Linked DNA regions of Homo sapiens: regions 1, 3 and 4 are each linked to region 2. The links are contacts of gene promoters, found by promoter capture Hi-C in blood cells and fetal thymus (Javierre and others, 2016). All regions are on one chromosome and are shown on one strand. Each heading gives the region's core, a stretch centred on a gene start or on the middle of the fragment in contact. The rest is flanking DNA. Distances are from core to core; before and after follow the strand shown.

Region 1 (2,700 bases), core at 168-2,667, 440 kb before region 2:
TATTGACCATACCAAAATGTTGAAAGCCAGTAATTGCTAACCCCCAACCATTATGAGTCAGCAGTTGTTAACATCCTGCCATATTTGCCTTATCTGTATGCTTATGTAAATATATTTCCTCCTGAATTATGTCTGGTACTAACTCCTGCTAAGTTAGTGGCAGACATGATAGCACTTCACCCCTAAATACCTAAGCTTGAATCTTCTCAAAATTAGAGCATTTGGGGTCATTTTTAATTTACCTTCTTTGGCCCTCATTCTAACTTGTCATCAGTTCTTTGAGAGGCCTCTTGCATCCTGTGCCTGCATTTCCCTTTCACAACCCTGGTTTGCTCTCTGCTTGCCTCATGCCTGCACTGTGTAGCCTTCTCCCTGGTCTCCCTGCCTCTAGTCCTCCTTCAACCAGTGAACAGCGCTGCCGCCAACTGACCTCCAAAGGGCTGACCTCCCAAGTGATCGCCTGGATTGTGTCAGGACCCAGCCTCTGATCATGCCTTGGTTGTCATTCAGGGCCCCTCACCTACACATCCTGCTCTATCTCCTGCCTCTTCAGTTGATTCCAGCCAATCTGACTGCTTTTCCCCAACTCAATTGTGCCGTTCCCTTCCTCTCATGCCCCATGGCACACCCACATTCTCTCCTGGATGGGAAGCTCCTTGAGAAACAGAGACAGCAAATCCTAAAGCTTGTGTGCTATCACGCACATGCAGACTCTTGGGAAACATCTTCATGAATGACCAGTTTGCTCCCTCCCACTTACTACAAATAGTATTCTTAGTCTTCTTCCAGATGCCCTGTGGTCTGTGCTGGAGCTGTATGGGCCCCTTACTAGACCACTCTGTCTCCCACCCCCCGTACTAGGTGTGTTGACCATGTACAGTAATTTATTGCCCAAGTTGGGTTCTTTTGAGAGTACTATGAATAATTACTCCAGGACTGGGACGTATGGGCATCCTAATACTAGGAAGAGCAGATTAATCAGAATACACCATATTGTAGTTACTACTTTGGCAACTTCCGTCGCGGGCTCCCCAGGCAGACTACGTGCATTGTGGACTAGGCTAGAGCTAGCTAGAGCTGGTGTCACCTGTGGTCGAAATGAAGCTGCTTCTGGCTGCATTTCCCCTGTAAGAACCCCGCCTAAAGCACTTGACAAATGGCAGATTCCACACACGTGGGTTTCCTGAATGGTTATCAGCACCCAGTCCTCACCTTAGGAGGATGGCTAAGTACGAACGAGGCTCTCTATTGGAAAAAGAATGCCCCACCCGACTGCAAATGAATCAGGAACGCAGCTTAGGCTATGCACTCTGCCTGCACCAAGACCCTTGGGGGCGGGGCCTGGAGTTGCAGTGGCTATGCCAGGCCTATTACTTTGAAGGAGTCAGGAACCATCTATTGAAAGTAGATATAACCACCCCTGTTTATCAGTGGAGGGGGAGGGGGAAGTGAAGAGAGCATGAATAAATGGATTCTAATCCAGCACTTTTCCAAGGTGAATGCCACATGCCATCACCTAGGGTCTCCTAATGCAAATTGTCCTAATTCCATTGGGCTGAAGAATCTGCGTGTCTAACAAACTCCCAGTGACATTGATGCTGCTGGCTGGGACTGTCTTTTGAATTGCACTTATATGGGCCCTTCCAAACCTCGTTGATGTCAATGGGTTCAGTTTTAGTACGTCTTTGGTTCGAGGCTTTTTCTCTCCCCTCTGCTTATTCTTCTAGTGCCAGTGTTAATGAACCGGGAATTGTCCAAAGGTGGGCTGCAGGAGGGGCAGGAAAGGGATGAGGCGGACTCATCATCCGCCAGTGCTTTAGTGTTAGAAAGGCTTGCCTCTTTCTTCCTCCCCATTGCTTGCTGGTGGTTATTATTAATGCACTGCTGTTGCTAAGAAGTTTCATTTGATTTCATTTCATTTTAGGATGTAAATATGGTAGTTGTTTTGAGTATAACACACCCAATCCAAGAGGAGAATGATTATTCAGCATTTTAATGAAATTGCTGTCTTTTATCCAGCCAGTGTCAATGGATTCCTGCTGTGAGCCAGGCATGTTAACTCACACTTTACCTGTGTCATCTCACTTCCCTTAAAGTGGCCAGTGCCCCATTTTAGAAAAGGAAAGACTGAAACCCAGAGAAAGCTTATAACTCACCAAGGCCACATAGCAAGTGGGAGGCCAACCCAAATTCAAACTTAGGCCAGTTTGTGCTGCCCGAATGCAGGTTCTCTTCACTGACTACACGGGTGCCCCCTGCACTGTGCTGGGTGCTGTGGGGAGAGAGATACCCCCACACAGGCCCTGCCCTCTAGATAAGGGGCCAGCCAAACTTTCTGTAAAGGGCCAGATGATAAATGTCCTAGTGTTGCAGGCTATACTGTCTCCTTCACAACAACTCAGCTTTGCCATTATAGCACAAAAGCATTCAGAGGCAGTAAGCAAATGAATGGGCATGGTCATGTTCCAATAAAATTTTAAGAAACAGGCAGTAGGCTGGACATGACCTGCAGGCTGTAGTTTTCCCACCTCTGCTCTGGAAGGATCCTGAAAAATAGAGATACAATGTGAGCCACAGCTGAAAAAAGTAAATAGAGGCCAGGCATGGTGGCTCATGGCTATAATCCCAACACTTTGGGAGGCCAAGCCAGGCGGATCACTTGAGGCCAGGAGTTCGAGACCAGCCTGGGCAACATGATGA
Region 2 (2,700 bases), core at 161-2,660:
AGCTGGAAGAGGTAGCTCTGGAGAAACGAGCGCGAGGTGCAGCCAGCTGAGCGGAGGTGCTGCGTGGACAGGGATGGCAGGGATGGGGTGTCACCTCTCCTTCCCTGCCCTTCCTTCCCTACCTTGATGAGGTGCAGGGGGAGCTCTGAGCCTGGGGTGGAGTCCATGTACTTCTTCAGGTCCTGGCTGAGGAACTCAAACACCAGATAGAGCTTCCTCTCGTTGTGCACCACGTCCAGCAGTCTGACAGGGAGATGGCAGTCAGGATGCTACCTTCGCCATCCCAGCTTCCCCACCTCAATCCCCAACTCACCGGACGATGTTGGGGTGCTTCAGTTCCTTGAGCAGCGAGATCTCCCTGATGGCAGTGCTTGGGACCCCCTCCATCTCCCTGCAAGAAACAAGGGCACAGCCGTGGGCAGAGACTTGGGCCAAGAAGGGCACTTCCAGCCAGGGGGATCGGCTTCTCCTTAACCCCACAGAATGACCAGGGCCCCGGCAATGGAGACCTGTGCTCCTTGGCACGTCATCCACCAAACTCCACAGTCAGGGCCCCGGCAAAGGCTGGTCAGAAGGCAGTGAACTGGGGAGAGGACAGGTAAGGGCTGCTGGGCAGCACCCAGAGGAGTTAAACGTGGACTCCAGGAAAGAGGGAACGGATCAGGGAGCGCCCAGGTTGTGATGGCCCAGGGTGGGTAACTCAGGGGCCGTCCCAGCACTCACAAATCCAGTCTGATCTTCTTCAGGGCCACCAGCTGCCCTGTCTCCCTGTTCTTGGCCTTGTACACCACCCCATAGGTGCCCTCTCCGATCTTCTCTACCTTCTGGAACATATCCATGGCCACAGAGCTGCCTGGGAAACAGAAGGCACCGGGCAATTTGCACCCCACGCCCAGCGCTCCCGTTGCTCCTCCAGCTTCCATGTGGCGCCCTGCCCAGCCCAGCCCAGCCCAGACTGCCCAGCTCCCAAGGCCCACGGCCTAGCCACCCCAACCCCAGCTCATCCTGCCTGGGAACCTGGCTGGGGGTCGGAAACCGCCCCTCACCCAGCCCAGCCCGGACCCCAAGGGGGTCAGGGGGCCCCCTTCACCCAGCCCAGTTCAGCCAGGACCCCCAGGCTTCTCGCCCATGCCCGGCCTCGGAGGGCAGGGCCCACACTCTCCCACCCAGCCCCCTGCCCATCCCAGCCAGAACCCCCAGGAAGTCAGAGACCACCCCTCGCCCAGCCCAGCCCAACATGGACCCCCAGGCCTCTCACTTGTGCCGGGCCTTAGAGGGCAAGACCACCCTTTCCCACCTGGGTCACTGCCCAGCCCAGCCAGTCCCAGGCTCTGGGTACACATGGCGGCCAGGAAGGGCTGCCCAGGGGCCAGGGCCACTGGGGGCAGAGGTCAGGGGTCAGGAGGGTCTTAAAGCCACAGTCCTGTCTTAGGCTGCACGGTCAGGGCCCAGGGCCTCAGCCCGGCCCGTGTGACGACGCTCAGCCTCCTCTGAAGGCAGAGCCTGGCCAGGGGCAGACCCCTGCATCCTGGGCCCCCCACCCCAGCCCCTGGGCCCCTGGTGCCCTACCCTGAGGCCCCAGGCCCAGAATTCACCAGAAGCCCTGAGAGGCTGCAGCCCACAGCCTGGGTTGCAGCTCCCCCTCCTGGCCCCCGCCGGCGCTGCACCACGAGCACACTTCAAGAGCACGCCCCCTGGGCCTTTATTCACCAGGACCTTCTGGAACCCTCCATGGCCCCACACCAAGCACGGCCCCGGCGCCCAAGCTCGGCCACCTGCAGTCTCCTGGGGTGGGGCTGTCGGATTTATGGCATGCTTTCTGGGTTCTCATTGCTGAGCCAATCCCAAAGTAGGGGAAGGGGCTGGATTCATCACCCGCCCCTCGGCTTTCGAGCTCCAGACAAGGCCGTCGCTGGGGAGGCGTCTGTGCTCTCCCGGGCTCCTGCAGCTCCAGAGGGTTCGGGCTCTGAAGCAGGTGAGGGTGTTGCTAGGCTGCTGTTTCCTACTGGCTGCCGCCCCGCTCCTGCTTGTACAGTCTCTGCTCCCGGATGGCTTGTTCCAACAAGGGCAGGTTCATCCCCTCCACACAGGTCAGCACGCGCGCCTTCACCACGGAGCCTCTGTCTGCAAGACAAACACCAGGGCACGAACGGCGACTGAGCGGCGTGTCAACAACGTCCTCCAAGGTGCATTCCAGCTGTTCCCTCCACAGCTCAGTCCTGGGTTTTGGCAGCAAGTGATGTGGACAATAACAGCATATGGGGCAAAGGCAACTGAGTATTTGGGCCTAGAACCGTGGGCCTGTCATGCACAGTCGGCCCGTGTCTGGAACTTAGCAGGTGGTCAGAAAACCCCTCTGGACTGAGGGAAAGGCCCCCTTGGCACCTTGGGACACAATGTCATCAGGAACCGGGGAAAAGAGACACCCATATTTTAAAAATCCAAGAGACTGAGCTCCCGGTAAGTTTGGCTTTATAGGAGCAGGTCATCCCACCCTGGACGAGGGGGGCTTCTAGCAGATGCGGTGGTGACCTGATACATAATGGAAAGGTTTGCCACTATTCAGGTGGCACCAAACAGGAAAGACATCTCCGAGAGACTTTTTAAAAATTTTCTTTCTTTTGACAGGTGAACTGGCTCACACCTGTAATCTCAGCACTTTGGGAGGCCAAGGCATGTGGAACACTTGAGGTCAGGAGT
Region 3 (2,700 bases), core at 74-2,573, 330 kb before region 2:
GAGATCACACCACTGCAGTCCAGCCTGGGCGACAGAGTGAGACTTCATCTCAAAAGGTCAGGAGATGAAGACCATCCTGGCTAACATGGTGAAACCCCGTCTCTACTAAAAATACAAAAAATTAGCCGGGCGAGGTGGCGGGCGCCTGTAGTCCCAGCTACTCGGGAGGCTGAGGCAGGAGAATGGCGTGAACCTCGGGGGGCGGAGCCTGCAGTGAGCTGAGATCGCGCCACTGCACTCCAACCTGGGCGACAGCGAGACTCCGTCTCAAAAAAAAAAAAAAAAAATTATATTCCAAGACCTCCCCACACTCAATGGAAAGAGACCAAATCTTTCTGTTAATGGCAGCTAAATGGAAGGGCAGTTGGGTTTCCCTTGGCATTCAAGCTGGCCTAAGCCCAAATCCCTGGGAGGCTGCCAGCAGGTGTTGGGTAACTCTGGTCACCAGCAGTTGCTTCAGATGTCACTGCAGTAACGGGGTATGACACAGGAGACCCAGGCAAATGTGAGGGTGGGTTAACTGTGCTGTGAATAGGAGTAACCTCAGATGAAAGCTAGGGCTTACTCAGCTACAAAAAGTCAGAAAGCTTCCCCTGCCTTCATGAGGTGCCATTGTAAGCTAGTGTGATGGTAAAATTCCCACAACACCCATCTGGGCAGCCCATGTTAAGTTGATAAAGTCAAGATCTTTTCTAGGGTTGATACATGGAATTAATCCCCAAATACAAACTTTGACTGTTTCAGAGATGTGAATACAGCTGTGATGGAGTTGCTCATCATGGCTTACGCACTGAAGACTGCCTGTGCCAGGAACATTATTGGGGTCATCCCCTACTTCCCCTACAGCAAGCAGAGCAAGATGAGGAAGAGGGGTTCCATTGTGTGCAAGCTGCTAGCATCCATGCTGGCGAAAGCAGGTGAGTGTGCGCGGGGGCCCTGGGGTTCCAGCATGATCCTTTAGGGCTCTTTCCTAGTTGGACTTAGCTCATACCTCAGATATCCAATCTGGGATCTGAGTGTTTGTTTCCTTTTGAACAGTTTTGGCTAAGGATATGTGAGCTCGGTTAGAAATTCTTTTTTTTCCCTTATTCGCTTTGTCCTACTTTAGAATACCATTGCTTTAGTGTCTTCTCTTCTCTGTCATCTGTCACATATTTTCTATTTCATCTTGTCATCGCTAAATTCTTAGCTGGCAGTCTTGGCATTCTTATGTGATCTTTTGATCTTCAGGTCTAGATTTCTATATCTGCTTTGTTAGCTAAATTCCATTTTTGTTCATAGTATTCAAGCTGGATTTTCTTTTACTCCCTCTCCCCCACCCTTGCCTTTCTACATAGTGGCTCATTTTCATTGCTTTATTCTCCTTGTGTGGCGGGGGCACGCTTTCTGGCCTGTAAATCAATGTAATATTTTACAATTGGGTTTCTATTCATCTGATGTCTGTTCTAAAACTTTAACGTATATTTGGGTCCTCGGAAAGAAATGTATGGTCCTCCCTCAATGTCCTTATAGGATTGGTTCCAGGAACCCATCTCCCGCTTCCCCGGCTCCTCAGCAGATACAAAAACCCAAAGATACTCAAGTCTTCCATATAAAATGCCATAGTATTTGCATATAACCAACACAGTCATCTGTAGATTATTTATAAATACCTAATACCATATAAACACTATATAAATTGTTGTTATGCTGTCTTGTTTAGGGAATAATGATGAGAAAAAAGTTTCATACCTGCTCAGTACAGACACAACCATTGTAGGCCTAACTACCTTTTCAGTCTGTGTTTCGTTGAATCCACACGTGGAACCCATAGATCCAGATGGTCAACTGTATGTGAATTTCATCCTCTCCAAAAAACTATAGTGTTTCTGGAAAGAACAAGTAATACTGGTTCTACACCCTGGAAGTTTTGCTGTGACCTTTGACCATTTGCAATGTGTTTATATATATGTACCTTTTCCTCTTCAGTACTCTTGATTATAAGAGTATCTCTTCATTGTTTTTCTATAAGAATACTTGAAACATTCTTTGTTACATACAGAAATTATTCTAAGCTTCAATATCTTTGTGTTATATGAGTTTCTTTTCTTCTAATATGTATATTACTTTGCGTTTGTGTTCTTGCTACTTTTTGCCTTCGCTACAGTTCTTTATCCTTTCTTTTAAGATTCTGTAATCAAGGCCTTACTGTTTTTTCCATCTCTTCGGTATTAATTCCATATTCATATTTTTGCTTCTGCCACATTATTCTTTTCTCAATTTTCTGGACCAAGCCAAAAGTCAATAATTCCCACTTTCTTAGCTTTAGTTCTTTGTCCATGTGGAAGGTTGTAGCCTTCTCTACATTAAGGCTTTATTAAGGTTAACAATCAAGCCTGTGACTGCAGTGCTTAATCACAGTACCCCGTCTTCAGTCTGCTGGTAGGAAGCAGGAGTTGAGCATCTAGTTTAGGTCCACTGTAGCCATTTACCTGTAGGGGTGAACTTTGTAATTTTTTGTTTTAAAATTTCAGGTTTAACTCACATTATCACTATGGATCTTCATCAAAAGGAAATACAAGGCTTTTTCAGCTTTCCTGTGGACAACCTTAGAGCCTCACCTTTCCTGCTTCAGTATATCCAGGAAGAAGTGAGGAACCACCAGCAAACACCCCATTGTCCTCAAAAGAGATCTTATTTAGTTTTTCTCTGGTATCAGAT
Region 4 (2,931 bases), core at 68-2,567, 260 kb before region 2:
GACCCCGGACCACTTCTCTGTGTGCTGGGCTGGTGGAGCTCAACACAGAGATTAAAGACACATTCCTGGCCTTATCTTGGGTCAAAATCTGTGTGTCCTCCTGGCTTGGGGGATGTATGTCCTTCCAACTTCCCAGTCCCCTTGGGCTTCGGAAGGTTGAACAGATCTTTGTGGGTAGAGCCCGGCTTCCTGAGCCAGGGTGGATTCATGCCTTTCCTGTTCCCTGTAGCGCTGGGTGTGTGTGTGTGTGGAGGGGGAGGGGGGAAACCACTCAACAGCACGAGGGGGTCCCCATAAACACAAGCACCCCCATCGCCCTCCCTGGGCCCTTCGCGCGGGCTTCCCAGTGCCCCAGACGTCCGGGCATCACCCTCTCCCCCTCCCCATCCCCTGGCTCTGGGGTCCCCCAGCTCCTGAGCCCCTCGCCAGGCCCCCGGCCCTCTCCCCCTCCCCCCAACTTTGGCGCCGCTTCCCCCCAGGGACCAGTGCCGGGCACCAGTCCCGAGGCCAAGCAGCAGCAGCCCGGGAGGCGGGCCTCAAAGTTGGAGGCGCCAGCGCCGGCCCGGGAGCCGCTCTTTCCTGGAAGACATTTTGGCTCTTTGTTTACATTCGCGGCGCGGCGCTCCCCGGCAACATGGCTGTCACCGCCGCGCTGACAGCGGCCCCGGCCCGCGCCCCTGCCCGCCGCCGCTTACCATCTGGTGGTGGTGGTGGCTGTTGGGAATGTTGGTTTCTTGGAAGAACGTGCTCAGCGCGGTCTGCGGACAAACAGGGCAGTGACACGGCGGGCCAGGCGGAGTCAGGAAACGCAGCGGCTGGGCCCCCCACCGGCTCTCCCCGCCTCCGCGCCCGGCCCGCGGCCCCCGACCCTCGGCTGCCCCACGTGCAGAGGGGAGCCGGTCCCGGCCCCGGTCCCGCGTAAGACCCGCTCGCGGGCGCCGATCGCCTTCCGGGCCGACAACAGGAGCGCTCCCCGCCCCCGCCGCCGCCCGGCGTCCCCGACCCCCGCGGCCCGGCCCCGCGGCGGCCAGGCTCGCACCTCGAACTGCCAGTGGGCCGCCTGCAGCAACTGCTTCGCCTGGTCGGCCGCGCAGCCCGCGGCCAGCACGAACTGGTTGATCATGACCTGGTGCCGCAGCTCGTCCATGTTCACCGACATGGCGCGGCGCGGCGCGGGGCCCGGCGTCTCCGGCCGGACGCAGACGCGGGGCTGCGCGGGCGCGGGAGGCCGGCCGCCCGGGGCTCCGGGGCTCGCGCTCACCGCTGCTGCCGCCGCTCCGCCGCCCGCTCCGCCGCCGCCCGCCCGGCGAATGTTGTGGTTCGACTCCCGCGGCCCGGCCGACACCACAAACAACAGCGCGGGGCGGGGCTGGGCCGGCCCAACGTTCGGGGACTGCCGCTGATTGGCCGGGGCGCCGCTCCGCCAGCGCCCGGCTCCCGTAAGGACGTTCGATTCGAATCCTGCGGCCTGTGGGGCCCTCACTGTTTCTCTTTTCGCCCGGCCGCGCCCATTGGCGGAGCTCGGCGCCGTGGGGCTCCCCAGCATTGGCCGGCCGCTGTGTTTTGGCTCATCCGGCCTCGTGGTTGGTCACGGCCGGGCGTTCGGGGCGGGGCCGCGCACTCTGATTGGCCTCCGGTGGTCCTGTTTGAACTCAACTTGAAAACCCGGAGTGCCTGCTGATTGGCCGAGGGCCCTCTGTTTGCTGTTGTAGGCTTGGGGGTGGTGCGGCCAAGTTCATTCATTACTTCATTGAAACAGAACATGCTCAGCTGGAAAAGCAAGACAGAGTGGCTTTGACTCATTTCCTCTGAAAGATGTGGTCATCTCGAGAAACAGAATGATCAAAATAGAAAACAGAGCCTTTGCAGCTGCTCAAGTCTCAAAAGCATGTAATTTTTAAAAATAACTTTCAAGCAGTCCAATTTAAAAAAATCTTTTATTGAAATATAACGTACATTAGGAAAGTGCGATGTCGCAGGTACAGCTTCCAGACTTTTCACCAAGTGAACACCCAGATCAATTAACAGAACGTTACTTGCACCCTAGGAACCCGCGTCCTGCCCTCTTCTAATCACTACCCACCGCAAGGATCGAGCAGTATTTTCTCAGTTTTTAGACCAAAGACTTTGCTCTCTGAAGATGGAAGCCAAGATTTATGTACAATAAATACGATATGCAAGGAAATATGCAAGGAAAAAAGTGAGACTTTCTCAGTGGCCAAAATGCCAAGTCAAGAATTTTTTCTTGTTAAATCGGTTGACCTAACTGAAGCTTTAATTTTCTTTTTTTTTTTTTCTCTTGCTTGTCACGAAAGCTAAGATGAAGCTTTAATTTCTACCATCTTTTAAAAAAACAACGGGTGGCAGTAGGGGTGGAGTCTGGGGTTGGGATGGCTTACACCTATAATCCCAGCACTTTGGGAGGCCGAGACAGGAGGATAACTTGAGGCCGGGAGTTCAACACCAGCTTGGGCAACATAGCACAGACTCCATCTCTACCAAATAAAAACAAACAATAACAAACAGTGAGTGTTTCTACAGAGATACTGTTTCTCAGTGGTAGCCCTTTAAAGTCCAAAATTTGGTGGTGGTGGTTGTTAGATAGGGCTAGAGTGACATGATCATGGCTCACTGTAACTTCGAGCGATCCTCTTGCCTCAGCCTCTCGAGTAGCTGGGACTACAGGCACACACCACCATGCCTGACTAATTTTTGAATTTTTGGTAGAGATGAGATCTCACTATTGTTGCCCAGGCTGGTCTTGAACTCCTGGACTAAAGTGATCCTCCTGCCTCAGCCTCCCAAAGCACAGGGATTACAGGTGTGAGCCACCATGCCTGGCCCCAAATTTGTTTGTATGTGCTGAGCTTCCATCTTCTGGATTAGAGTTTGATCTTCAGGGCTGTGTTTGAGAATTGTGGGGGTAGGAAA

What was found. The method cuts DNA at HindIII sites, captures the fragments that hold promoters and counts their contacts. A CHiCAGO score of 5 or more calls a contact.
Region 1: a contact is called between a fragment that was not itself captured here and the fragment with the promoter of CDK3 in region 2, in 1 of 17 cell types (erythroblasts). The highest score is 5.0, in erythroblasts.
Region 3: a contact is called between a fragment that was not itself captured here and the fragment with the promoter of CDK3 in region 2, in 5 of 17 cell types (naive CD4 T cells, naive CD8 T cells, M2 macrophages and 2 more). The highest score is 6.1, in naive CD4 T cells.
Region 4: the fragment with the promoter of UBALD2 here is called in contact with the fragment with the promoter of CDK3 in region 2 in 1 of 17 cell types (endothelial precursors); the score reaches 5.1 in endothelial precursors.

What each region holds. Positions count from the first base shown.
Region 1 is chr17:76,440,523-76,443,222 of GRCh38, reverse strand. All of the region lies in intron 1 of UBE2O (ubiquitin conjugating enzyme E2 O), which reads left to right. Among named protein-coding and RNA genes, the nearest start is that of UBE2O, 11 kb to the left of the region's middle. RefSeq lists enhancers at 111-230, 1,655-2,172. The HindIII fragment of the contact is 1,459 bases long and covers 688-2,146 here.
Region 2 is chr17:75,999,565-76,002,264 of GRCh38, reverse strand. It overlaps CDK3 (cyclin dependent kinase 3), which reads right to left and starts at 1,410. Exons shown (of 8, transcript NM_001258.4): 1 at 1,298-1,410; 2 at 724-853; 3 at 314-391; 4 at 123-243; 5 at 1-17. The coding sequence starts at 839. TEN1 (TEN1 subunit of CST complex) reads right to left here. Exons shown (of 4, transcript NM_001113324.3): 4 at 1,679-2,124. The coding sequence ends at 2,003. TEN1-CDK3 (TEN1-CDK3 readthrough (NMD candidate)) reads right to left here. Exons shown (of 10, transcript NR_037709.1): 4 at 724-2,124; 5 at 314-391; 6 at 123-243; 7 at 1-17. LOC124904061 (a long non-coding RNA gene) reads left to right here and starts at 1,705. Exons shown (of 2, transcript XR_007065911.1): 1 at 1,705-2,460; 2 at 2,629-2,700. RefSeq lists a silencer at 1,524-1,603 and an enhancer at 1,734-1,783. The HindIII fragment of the contact is 39,600 bases long and covers 1-2,700 here.
Region 3 is chr17:76,330,480-76,333,179 of GRCh38, reverse strand. It overlaps PRPSAP1 (phosphoribosyl pyrophosphate synthetase associated protein 1), which reads left to right. Exons shown (of 10, transcript NM_002766.3): 4 at 745-917; 5 at 2,514-2,629. Among named protein-coding and RNA genes, the nearest start is that of PRPSAP1, 22 kb to the left of the region's middle. The HindIII fragment of the contact is 1,467 bases long and covers 590-2,056 here.
Region 4 is chr17:76,263,734-76,266,664 of GRCh38, reverse strand. UBALD2 (UBA like domain containing 2) reads right to left here and starts at 1,317. Exons shown (of 3, transcript NM_182565.4): 1 at 1,040-1,317; 2 at 696-758. The coding sequence starts at 1,159. It overlaps LOC105371896 (a long non-coding RNA gene), which reads left to right and starts at 1,584. Exons shown (of 6, transcript XR_007065913.1): 1 at 1,584-2,931. RefSeq lists enhancers at 505-604, 1,865-1,914 and silencers at 775-914, 1,215-1,514. The HindIII fragment of the contact is 2,310 bases long and covers 1-2,274 here.